2 separate regions of the Homo sapiens genome follow, and region 2 is linked to region 1. Evidence: promoter capture Hi-C in 16 types of primary human blood cells and fetal thymus (Javierre and others, 2016). All regions are on one chromosome and are shown on one strand. Each heading gives the region's core, a stretch centred on a gene start or on the middle of the fragment in contact. The rest is flanking DNA. Distances are from core to core; before and after follow the strand shown. Region 1 holds the start of STT3B (STT3 oligosaccharyltransferase complex catalytic subunit B). Region 2 has its middle 55 kb from the start of GADL1.

The links. Contacts are between HindIII fragments. The CHiCAGO score rates a contact against its expected background, and 5 or more counts as called.
Region 2: a fragment that was not itself captured here is called in contact with the fragment with the promoter of STT3B in region 1 in 1 of 17 cell types (monocytes); the score reaches 6.9 in monocytes.

The regions. Positions count from the first base shown.
Region 1 is chr3:31,529,218-31,535,738 of GRCh38, reverse strand. It overlaps STT3B (STT3 oligosaccharyltransferase complex catalytic subunit B), which reads right to left and starts at 2,814. Exons shown (of 16, transcript NM_178862.3): 1 at 2,427-2,814. The coding sequence starts at 2,740. RefSeq lists enhancers at 1-140, 141-642, 2,082-2,141, 2,992-3,131 and silencers at 2,302-2,451, 2,532-2,661, 2,692-2,921, 3,232-3,491. The HindIII fragment of the contact is 5,534 bases long and covers 1-5,059 here.
Region 2 is chr3:30,946,744-30,952,979 of GRCh38, reverse strand. No RefSeq gene overlaps it. Among named protein-coding and RNA genes, the nearest start is that of GADL1, 55 kb to the right of the region's middle. The HindIII fragment of the contact is 4,842 bases long and covers 1-4,033 here.

The DNA of each region.
Region 1 (6,521 bases), core at 1,565-4,064:
ATATTTTCTTTTTTGAGTCGGAGTTTCGCTCTTTGTTGCCCAGGCTGGAGTGCAGTGGCGCGATCTCGGCTCACTGCAACCTTCGCCTCCCGGGTTCGAGAGATTCTCCTGCCTCAGCCTCCCAAGTAGCTGGATTACAGGCGCCCGACACCACTCCCGGCTAATTTTTGTATTTTTAGTAGAGAGGGGGTTTCACCATGTTGGCCAGGCTGGTCTCGAACTCCTGACCTCAGGTGATCCACCTGCCTCGGCTTTCCGAAGTGCTGGGATTACAGGCGTGAGCCACCGCGCCCGACCAAAACATATTTTCATGTGCATGAAAAAGAATTATGCCCTCCAACCACACTACTGAAGCTGGAAAAAGAAAACTTTTAATACTTAGCTACACTAAAAAAAAAAAAATAATAAAAATAAAAAATAAAAAATAAAAATATTAGCCACTTTACTTGTTGAGCCTTTTCATTATTGCATTACTCAATTTTAGTGGGGATCTTTGGCTGACTTGATGCAGATTTCTAATCTTAAGGAAAAATGACCAAAATCTCATCATTCAGTAGTGAATTTTTCTGCAATCTTTAATTTCAGCCCCAGAGTTACTATTAAACAGTCGTTAGCCTTCCATTTGTAAAAATGTTACTATGGAAATATTCACAATTTTGTTACCTGAAATGTTTGGTCAACCATGCATTTCTGCTATTTTAATCTGAAAAGAGAACTTTCTCTTTTCATATTGTCCAGTAAATACTAGTTTTCATTTTCTGGTTCCAATTTCATTTTTATCTAACTTGCTTAAGTATTTCAAAACAAGACCACCTAATAATATTGTGTCAATAAGCCTTCACAGGTATTCTTAGGCTCATAAATAGTCTACACTAACATATTTTCTTCTGTGATTGCACGTTAACAAAAAGGTTATTTTTTAAAAAAACTAGTGTTAGAAAACAAAATCAAAACTTCTAAAATGGAATGAAAACATTTCATGGAAGACTGTCACAGTAATTAACTGATCTAAATTGAATTGTCCATGAGTGGGCCCCTCTGGTGTTCAATAGATGTTGCAGTACCAATTTTTCTCTCCATAATGCAGAACTTAAATCTGGTATATTACTATACAGGTAAGTTACTGCCCCCCTCCACCCGAACACTTATTATCTATATAGTTAGTAACTCTCAAAAAAGACTCTCTCTCTTTGAATCTCAAATGATGAAACAAATATCCTGAAATTTAATTAGGTCTAACTGTGAGGAAGTAAGATTAACTCAAGGTTGACAGGTCAATAAGATAACACTAGTTTAAAAGGCATACTCTCAGAGGGGAAAATCCTAACTCAGGGGGAAAAATCCTAACTCGGGTTGGGCAAGTTGCGAAAAAAAAGTTAAAGCAATCTTTCCATCTAGATAATTCACAGACCAATGTAGTGTCTAAGTTAGCTAGTGTTGTTAAGAGTGGGGTAATTTCCTAAAACATTCAGGTCAGTCCCTTACACCATGTGCAACTTCGGTATTACAATCTAGGACTCCCATCACCGTGGTACTGTTTGCTCTTATCCACAAACCTTCCTGCAGACCAATAAAGGAACTAATGCAATGCTTTCAGATACTGTGCATAACACACTAAGGGTGACAGTGGCTAACAGGGTAAGGATCTTGTTCTAAAAAGCAACCCAAGACGATAGTGAAACAGTAAGGTGCTGAGTGCACTTAAGAGCTCTGAAAAAAAGCCACTCTTTAAAATACCTAATGATAAATAAATAAGAGTAGCTAGCTTTCAGATCACTTTCAGGGGTATTATTTCCTTCCCTCCAACACGCCATTCACTCTCCTTTTCCCTTCTCGTATCATGAGAGCATAAAAAGAAACAGTAAAAGCGTAAAACTGCAAGGGTGAGCAGCCGGGGTTCCGGCACATCTGGACCCACCTCCAGCGGCAACAGGGCAGCCCCCCTGGCCGATTCCGTCTGAACTAGCAAAAACGCGCCCGCAAATATGAAAGAACGCGAAAGCAGCGGGCGAGGAGGGCGGGGAATCGACCGACAGTCCGCGGAGGAGCTACCTGCCGCCTCCTGGCGTGGCGGGTCCGGACTCAGCGACCAAAGCGGGCTGCGAGGGACTGCACCCACACTCCCGGCGGCTGCACCCACACTCCCGGCGGCTGCATCCACACTCCTGGCAGTCTTCACACTAGCCCGGCCGAGAATCAAGGTTTCGCTCCTGGACCCCGACGCCCCGCCTCAGGCTGCACGGGGCAAACTTCGCCCACGGGCAGGGGGCGCGCCCGGAGCTCCGGGATCCGCGCCGGCCTCAGCCAGGACGCGAGCGGGGCTCCGCGGCGGCGCGGGGCCAAGTCGAGGAGAGCTGCGGCGGGCGGAGGAGCGGGTCCCGGTTCCCCGCGGGCCACGGGCGGGGGAGGGGCGGCGAGGCACTTACCACGGGTCGAACTCGTGGATGATGCTTTCGAAGCGGATGACGGCGAAGAGGCGCGAGCTGAAGCCGGCAAGCCAGGCCAGGAAGAGGATGGTGAAGGAGAGAAGCGACTGCCACCCAGCCGGCTGCGACAGCCCCCCGGACAGCCCCGCCGGGGCCGGCTTCGGCGGCGCCGCGCCGCCCGCCGCCTTGTGCGCGCACTGGGCCCCGGGCCCGTGGTGGCCGTGCCGGCTGTTTCCCAGGGCCATGAGGCCACTCCACGGGGACGAGTTGAGGGACGACTTGTGCTTGCTCTCCGGGGCCGAGGGCTCCGCCATGTTGTGCCCCGGCGGCGGGTCTAGCTCTCCTCCTCCGCCGCCGCCGCCTGGTGCGAGGGGTGCTGGGCGGGGACCCGGAGGAGGAGGAGGAGGAGGAAGAAAAAGGAGGAGGGAAGAGCTCTGCGCGCTCCCGCCCTCAGCGCCGCGAGGCCGGCGGACTGGGGGTGGAGGAAGCGGCGGCGGGGAGTCTCCGCCTCAGCAGCGGCCGCAATCGCCGCTCTCTCAACCCAGATGGCCCCGGCGCCCCACTAGCCATCCGTATCCCCAGTGCAGCTGCGGCGGCGGCGGCGAAAGCCGACGGGACGAGGGCGCCAGGAAAGAAGCAGCAGACGGAGGCGGCACCACGGCTCTGAGAAGCAATGACATTCCCTCTCTAGCCCGCCGCCCGCCCAGCCGAAAGGAGCAGGGGGAGGAGCCCCCTGGAGTCCGGGCGGAGCTCAAGCAACCTCTGACTCCGCCTCCGGCCCGACAGGAACTGGCCCCTCCGCCTGTCACAAAGCGACAGGTCCGTTAGGGGGCGGGCCCAGAACCGCTGCGCCCACCAATAGGGGCGCGAGCTGGGGCGGAGCTTGACCCAACCGTCTCCCCCTCCCCCCCACCATCCCGGCCTCGCGCCGATTCGCCCGGAGTGGCCGAGCTGCGCGGCTACGGCTTCATTGTCAGTTGAAAGACGCGGTTTCGCGCGCCTGTGCGGTCGGCGAGAAAGGGTACTAGGCGGCTCCGCTAGGTTCATGGAGCTGAGCTGGGCCGAGGGGCGGGAACTGCGGAGCGGCCTCGGTCAAACTCGTCTTAAAGGACGCGGAAAGCGCCGCACCGACCAGCAGGACGCTCGCGGGCTCTCCGCGGTCGTGACTTTTAACCCGCTTTGCGCGGAGCCCTCACCACGTGACGGCCGCGCAGGCGCATTATCCTAGCCCTCGGCGCGTGGGTCGGGCCGAGGGGTTCAGCAGCCCGTGGCGCTCCTCGGCTGGCGCTGCGAGTGAGCCCGCGGCGGCAGTGACACAGCCTACCTTGCTCATTGCCCTTCACGTCCCGCCTCCGGCTTCTGCGGCCGCGGGAATCCGAGAATGTGAGCAAAGACAAGTTTTCCGACACCGAAAACTCGTTGGAACCGGCAAGCGCGCCCCTAGCTCCGGCAGGCAAAATGCGACCTTCTCTCGCCCTTTTTCGTTTGTACTCCGAATTGCGAAAGTACTGTATGTTCACTGGAAATATGGGAAAATGCAGAAATACATTAACGGCTGCATACATTCCGTCGAGTGAGTGAAACTAACTTACCCTGGACGTTAAGCTGTTTCCAGTTCTCACTTTACTAAATAATAATAGAACGAAGGTTCTTGTGCACGTCTACCTTGTATTTTTATAATTCCTTTCCTTTCCCCACTTCCCTCCTTGTCCGCTAAAATAAAGTGCTACCAGATAAACTCAGGGCAAAATGAGCTTAAACTAAGTGAGGTAGTGGGGAGACTCGAATTGCTCTTATATAAACCCCATAGAAAGTACGGAGCTTTCGGCGTAATCGGTGCTCAGTAAATACTTGTTCATGTCAATTCACAGCTAATTGTACATTTTATTAGGTAAGTAACATCTGGATATTAAAGGGCATATTAATGTAAAACTATAAAGGCCCTGAATTATTTTCTTAGGTGATTTAAATTTTTCTCTTTAACTACAAATTGTGTTTCAATATTAATAGAAGTCTTAAAATATTAGATAAATGAACCCTAGTTATTTTGAGGTAGCTCCTTGAAAGTAAGGCAACTCCAGCTACCCTTTTAACCTGCTAAGTGGTTACGTTTTGTCTTGTTTCCTTAAAAAAACCATAAATAGTCTTATTAAGGAAATAATGAAAAGGTTTCCAGAAATAGACTTTCTCACCAACAGTTTAATAGCCGACATTTATTGAACGTACACATTTTAATGAGAATTAGGATAAAATATTAACTGCCTCTGTTATACAGAGAAAGATGACATGCTTTTCCTCATAGCCCAAACGGTACATGCTGAAATGACAGCAGAGGATTTTTGTCTGTGTTCCCTGAACCAAAGTTTTATCAGTCTAAAATAAAATTTGTGTTTTTATTTTAATTTGTTTGGATATTTCTATTTTATTGTCTTTGTGTATCTATTCCCTAGTAAGTTCTACGTTATCTTCTTTTGCTTCCTGTTTTGGCTGTTTAATGGCCATAGGCCTGATCTGAAAAGTGACAAAGTGAAATAGTCCCAAATTGTTGCTTACTAGTCATGTAGCATTGGACAAGTCACCTGCATGGGTTGCCCTTTCTGCTCTTAAAGTCAGTTGTTAATATTAAAAAAGCTTATCTGAAAGCATTTTAGGAAATTGTTAAGGAACGTGCAAATACAGGGTAGTGGTAAAGGTGAAAAGCCCTACGAAAACCCCTTGATTTTTGACCTTCATTTATTCACTCATTCATTCAGCAAGTATATATTGAACTCCTTTATGCCGACCACTGTGAGTGAACTGGGATGCATGGGGATTCAGCTAGGAACAGGAAAGACAGGGCTCCTACTCTCAGAGAGTTCACCAGCCAGCCCTAGGAAGGGAGGTATTAACCAAATCATCAGATGGTTCAGGACCAAAATGCAGGGTGACAAACACTGTGGAGGACAGGCACATGGGGAATTTGATCTACACCAGAAGGATGAGAAACATTACCCTGAGGAAGCAGCACTGGAAGTGATGATGAACGGACGAGGAGAAGGAGAATGGAACGCGTTACATAGAGAAGCACGTGCAAAGGCACTGCAGTGGGGCAGGGGAGGCATACGAGTAACCCAGAAAAGTGGCTGCAATGCAGACAGTGGGACAAGGTGCAGTAGGAGTCAAAGGAATGGCCGGGTAGTGTAGGTCCTTTTAAGAGGTGTTTTTTGCTTCATGTTAACTTCAGAATATTGAGAAGCCATAAAGGGTTTTAAGCAGCATGTAGTGTATTTGAGATAGAGGGAGAGAGTTGATCAGATGTGTGTTTTGAAAAGATTACCAAGGCTGCAATGTGAAAAGCATTTTGGAGAGGAGACCAGTAAAAGCTCTACCTGAGAATTCAGAGATTACTTTTGTGAGGAATATGCTATTGTGGAACCACTAGAGAACCCATAAAAATAAATTGCAGCATTGTGAATTCACAATTTCTAGCCTATCAACTTGGAAAAATTGTTTACAGTTTGTGATGAAGCTTGAATGTGTTTGCCCCTTTGCACTTGAGGTTCTAATCCTGCTAGGTGCTTGTAACATCCTCCTGAGTTCAAATATCTCAGGAGTCAATCAAACACTATGGGTGCAACATGATGAGCAGAGTGGTGTGACATCAGAGGCCCAGCTTCCAGGGGAAGGGAGTATTTGAGTTGAAACTTGAGGGGTGAGCAGAAGTTCACAAGACACACCAGGAAGAGGGATGGGGGATTCCAAGAAGGAACGAGGAAGTCCTTCAAATTAATACACAAAGTTTAATATTAATGAAGGTGCATTGGGAGATGAGACTGAAAGAGGGATAAGAACCAGATTATCAAGGACTTGTCTGCCTGGTAAAGGAGTTTATTATTCTGTAAGCAGCTGGGATTCATTGAAACATTTTGAACAACAATAACATGATCAGACTTGGTTGATGGAAGAAAAAAATTGACAGTAGTATGAAAGATGTACTGGAAAGGGTGAGAGTGGAAGCAGAGAAACCAATAAGGAAGCATTTACAGAAATTTAGGCAAGAGAATTAGGTACCAAAACTGGGACAGTAGGGCTCAGAGAGGAGAGGACTGATAGGAG
Region 2 (6,236 bases), core at 363-2,862, 580 kb after region 1:
GTAGTTGAGTTCAACAGCTTTTGAGATTATTCCAGTGATGTGGTTTTGGACATGCTATTCCCCAAATATGGCATTTTGGCATTTAAGAAAATAGCAGAAGCAGGAAGGTCATTCCCACTTTCTCCTTGTCCTTCTTCCCTGAAGCAAGTCATAAGACACTTATTCCCGATGTGCCATCCTATTACATGAAGGAAAGAAACACCCTTATCGCTGAAGACACAGGGACACAGAGAAGAATCTGAACAAACAGGCCTTGCTAAATTCCCCCCAGTTTATTACCACTAGATGATCTACCCTTTGTCCAACCATACTTCTCCACAACTATTTACTTCTTTATCAAATGTAGCATAAAAAGATACAAGTTTATCTGTTTATTTGGGTCTTCATTTCTTCATGAAGGCTCCCATGTCATGTTAGACTTACTGTACTCTTTTCTCTTGTTAATATGTCTTTTGTTACAGAGGTCTCACCATGAACCTGGCGATGGATGAGAAGATATTTCTTTCCCCCCATACCAGCCCTCACCACCAACTGACTGCAAAAACTTGAGAGACCGAGTGAGAATTGCCCAGCTCAGCCCAGTTAGCTCCTAGAACCATGAGAGATAAAAATAAATGATGGTTACTGTTTTAAGCCATGTTTTTCGAACAGTTTTTTATGTAATGATAGATAACCAAAACAGCAGACTCCGTAAAATTCCTTTTTCAAGCTAAAGTTAGTCTTTTAGCAAACATTTACTAAGCACCTACCGTGACATTCTAAGTTGACTCTTCTATCTTTCTTCTAATTGGACCACATATGATGTGCTTGTTCTCTCACTGCCTTGATCAGTGAGACAGTCTTCTGGACACAGGCTAAGATTTTCTGATGCTCTCTTAAAGCACAGTAACCAGAGCTCAACCCTGTGCTTGGAATTTTTGGGGGGCCAGCCCAGACAATGTGAGAGCAAGCATTGCATTCCTAAGCTGCTGCTGTACCACAGAAGCTCCACTCGCATCTCCATTTTGATGCTCAGCAGCTGTGTGGCTTCAGCCGTCATTGAACCACTCTGAACTCAAGTTTCCCCATGTAGGAAATGAAGTTTTTAACACCCACATGGAAAGAATTATGTGGCTATTAAATGAGATAATGTATGCAAAATACTTGGTGCAATGCCTCACCATAGTAAATGCTTACTAAACTGTAGATGCAATTATTGCTTTTATTCCCTCTTCTCTTCTGGAGAAGTAATTGTTTTAACGTACCCTACAATAAAATTAGCAGATCAAATTGGCTTTAGCAGCCGCTTACATTCCTGATTCTTATGTAATTTACAATGAGAGATCTTGAAGTCAGTGCTTCCCAAACCAGTACAGGATGATGGCAAAATTCAGGGGGAGGAGTCCTGGCCGTCTGTAGCTAATAAGTACCCCTAGGTGCACGTGGTCCACTGAGAAGTCTTTTTCTCATTTTGAATTTTCCTGGCTGACTGATCAAAAATGCTATTAATTTCAGCCTGCTAACACTGGTTCTTAGCTGTAGCATGTTGATATGTCTTTAGATTATAATTCCGTTGTCAAATATATTATAAGGTAGTCCTTTAGACCTTATGCCCCCCTGTCAATTTGGCCAAAACATCTTGTTTATCTTCACCTGTCATTGATTTAAAAAACTACAACATGTTGAACAGGACTCCTTCAGTGTTCCACTAAAGAGCTGCCTCCAGCCTCATGCTGGCTCCTAATCTATTCCTCCTGGGGGTGGACATTCAACTGGTCATGAATCCACCTTGCCATGCTATCATCTGAGCCACAATTTTTGCCTTCTTTATAAAGATCACAGAAGACTTTGACAAATGCTCTGAATTCAGAGGCCTTAAATCTACAGGATCTAACATGCCTGTCAAAAAGCCATAATAAAAAAGCCAGAGTCCTTAGCAATCTGTCCTGAGAAGGACCCAGTGATCTCATCTTTTTCTGTTTTTAAAACTTAACTTCCACTATCTCAATAATATGTCTTAGAATATTACCTAGCATTGAGGTTGGAATCAGTTATTTTGCTGAACCTATTTATTTTTTTTTTGCAGGGAACTTGGATGAGACTATTCTCTCTGAATATTTCTCTTTCTCTTATTCTCCCTCTCTTCCTCTCTCTCCACCTCTCTCCTTTCCTCCATCCTTCTTTCCCTTTTTTGCATAACTATTTATTTACAACTTTAAATTTGGAAAATTTCAAATACATAGAAAAGCAGAAAAACTAGCAAAATAACCCCCCACTCCCAGCTCCCAGCTTCAGAACTTATCTCTCTGGCTACCCTGTTTTATCACCCACTTCTTCCCAACCACCACTGGATTGTTTTGAATAGTATTAGAATATTTAATTGTGTAGAGTTCAGTAGGTATTCCTCAAAACAGAGTTGTTTTTAGAAACATAATCACAATGACATTTTACAATTAAAACATGATCTTTTTAAATATCATCAAATATCCAGCTAGCAGTCAAAATTTTCTGGATTATCTCAAAAAAAGTTTTTTTTTTTTTTTTTTTTTTTTTTTTTACAATTTGTTCTGATCTTTGGGAGTATTTTGTCCTCTTTGAAACAGAAACTATATTATGTATATATATTTATTTTCCATGTATATTTATATATCTCATGCACCTATGTTTCTAAATGACTTCTGATCATACTTTAGGGCTTTACTTTCAGGTTTTCTCAGGTCCTTGAGTGGAATTTGTATCAGGACTTTAGATCTTATTTGAAGAATCCAGCTAGTACTCTAGATCCTTGCTACTCAAAATGTGTCTAGGGACCAGCAGCATTAGCATCTCTTGGAAGTTTGATAGAACTGCAGAATCTACAGCCTCTTGCAGAATTTCTTAATCAGAATCTGCCTTGTAGTAAGATCCTTACATAATTAATAGACACACTAATGTTTGAGAAGCTCTGTATTAAAATACTAGGCCCCTCCCTACACATGCTAAACAAGAAACTTGAGTTTTGAGGCATCAAAAATTTCTAATAGATGTTTATTAGTGAGTGAGACCCATGTTCTGTTGCAGCATAACTTGGTCATCTATGGACTGGAAAGTCTAACACTTGTCTTTTAATTTTCTCTTCCCCTCCCTACCACTCTTCCTATTTAGTTTATACTATACCACTCCTTCTTGGGTTTGAAATTCAGAGTCCATATATATATATATATGTGTGTGTGTGTGTGTGTGTGTATATATATCTATATGTATACATATGTGTATATATCTATATGTATACATATGTGTATATATATACATATATATATGGCAAAAGCAGGGACAAAGGAAATGAATGGAAGGGTGCATGTCTTCTTGTGACCCATGCTCAGAACCAGCATAGTGTCAATTCCACCACATTCTATTGGTTGAAGCAAGACCTAAGATTCAAAGGCAGATGAAAAACTTTGTCTCTTGATGGGAGAAGCTGCAAGCCACAGTACAAAGAGTACACATATAGGGAAGGATAAAGGATTGTGGTCATTTTTGCAAACAATGTACCATAAATACTTCATGTGTAGTAGTCTTATCTGAGGACAGGGAGTTGGAAGTAGATGCTTTTTATGGTGTCCTACTGCCTTCTACTTACATCTAAATAAATGACCTGTCAGCCAACAAGTGACCATCACTGAGAATAAATAATTTGAGAGTAGAACATTCTGAAATTTAATATGTGCAGAACCAAGGTGAAGAGTTTCCCAAGCTGAGGACTCAAAGCTGCAAATTCTCTCCAAGAGATTCCAGACAAGATTTAGGGGAGAGAGGCAAGACACGTTTCTTTGCATTGATCTTTGAATAATCTTAAGCAAGTCACAAAGACTCCCATATGATTGGTCCCCAGGCAGCCCACATCCCTTTGTGTGTTATTTCCTTCTAACGTAACATGCTTGTCAAAGCAGTGAGGTATTACAGAGAAATGGGCTGTGGAAATGCATGTAAAATAATATTTTATGTTTTGATGCACTGGAAGTCAAAGTGATCATCATACAAACCATTTAATTTTGAAACCAACTCTTGTGAAGCTTGTTTCATTGCTGTTCAAAATTCAATTGCCCTCTCTTTGAAAGTGCTTCTCCACCTAATGCTTTCTCCCTCACTTAGCATATGAGGGCCTTGTTTTGTGGAGGACATGCATTTGTGACCTAAGACAAAACCTCTCCCGGTTGTTGGGGAATTGATTCTGCCTGAGAGCCTCACTATTATAATATTTACCTTACAATAATCTATTTGATGCCTCCCAATTGAGTGCAATAACCATTTTATTATTTGTTGTTTCAATTTAGTGGGAAATTGTGCAAACTACTCCATCAGCTGCTTCTGCTTTTCTTGCTCACCACTTTTCCACCTCCCCCCACCAACTCAAATAAGCAGTCAGATTTCATTATGAGAGTGACTTTCATTTTGCTTCTATAAGGAAATGTCATCACATGTTAATGCATTTGGGTTTTGAGGGTTTTTAAACATCTTTTTATTTGTATAAATTTAAGGGTATAAGTGCAGTTTTGTTGCCTGGGTATATTGCAAAGTGGTGAAGTCTAGGCTTTTCAGTGTAACCATCACTCATATAATTTACATTATACCTATTAAGTAATTTCTCAGCCCTCACCCCACTTCCACCTCTCCCACCCTTCTGAGTCTCCAGTGTCTATTATTCCACACTCCACGTCCATGTGTGATTATTTAGCTTCTACTTATTAGTGAGGATATGTGGTATTTGGCTGAGTTGTTTCACTTAAGATAATGCCCTCCAGCTACATCCACATTGCTGCAAAAGATGTGATTTCATTTTTTATGGCCGAATAGTATTCCATTGTACATTTACACATTTTCTTTATCCATCCAACCATTGATGATCACTTAGTTTTATTTCAAATCTTTGCTGTTGTGGATAGTGCTGCAATAAACCTACAATTACAAGTCTCTTTTTAATATAATTATTTATTTTGGGAAAATACCATTATGGGATTGCTGGATTGAATGGAAGCTCTATATTTAGTTCAATTGTAGAAATCTCCACACTCTTTTCCAGAGGGGTTGTACTAATTTATATTCCCACCAACAGTGTATAAGCATTCACTTGTCTCCACATCCTTGCCAACATCTGTTATTTTTTGACTTTTTAATAATAGCCATTCTGACTGGTGTAAGATGATGTCTCACTGTAGTTTTAATTTGCATTAAATGCCTTTTATTGACCAAAGCTTTAGGTGTCTCTTTAGGATCCACTCTGCTATCTTGTGGGCCTTTCTGGGCATGAAAACATACATCACTTCCTTAGAGAAGCACCATAGTGTAATGGTTATAAGTTTGGCTTTGGTGGGTAACAGCCTGATTTAATACCCTAATATTGCTATTGACAAGCAGTGTGACCTTGGCAAGTTTCTTCATATCTCTATGCTAGTTTCTTTATCTGAAAAGAGGAACAGTATCCACTCATTGGGCGATTGTGGTGATTAATGAGATAATGCATAGAAGATGCTTAGTATGGGGTCTGGTACCTAACAGGGGCTCACTAAGTGTTCATTGTTGTTTGATGTTATTTCTACTGTGGTGGTAGTTATTCCTTCTGTCTCTGAGTGAAGTCACTGGCTAGAACAGAGTCTCAGCCAAAAGCCACCTAAAACCGTGTTCTTGGAGATATCCTAAATGTCAGATGATAAATTTAATTTACTTCAGCTGGTAAAATGTTATAAAATGCCGAAAGAGAGAAAGAATACATTGCCTCCCTTTCACTAATTATTTCTTCTTTCTGCCTTCTTTCCTCTTTCTCCCTCCCATTTTCTCTCCCCAAATCTTTATTAAGGGACTTCCATGCCACACAATGCTAAGCTTTGCTGTATACAGACTAACACAACACAGTCCATGTACTCCAGATGCTCCCAATTCCTAAGATACAAAGAATCAGCCAATACAGTTCAGCACTGCAGCAAGGGCTCAGTGGAGGTCCATCTCCTTAAGTTAATGTTACAGTTGAACATGAAAGATGAATAGAATTTGGACAGATAGCTGGGGTGAAGGATAGGCCTTATGAGGAAGAGAAGACATGGGCAAGGGAGAAGAGAAGAGTATTCTGGGAAGACATAACATCATGGCTTGCTGGAGGCAAAAGCAGGAGGCCAGAAGAGCTTCTTCCATAAAGATACTGTCTTGCTTACACCTCAATGTAGATCAGAGCTGCCCCCAAATCTGTGTCTTGGGGAAACAGACATTCCCCACTTAGAAAAAGC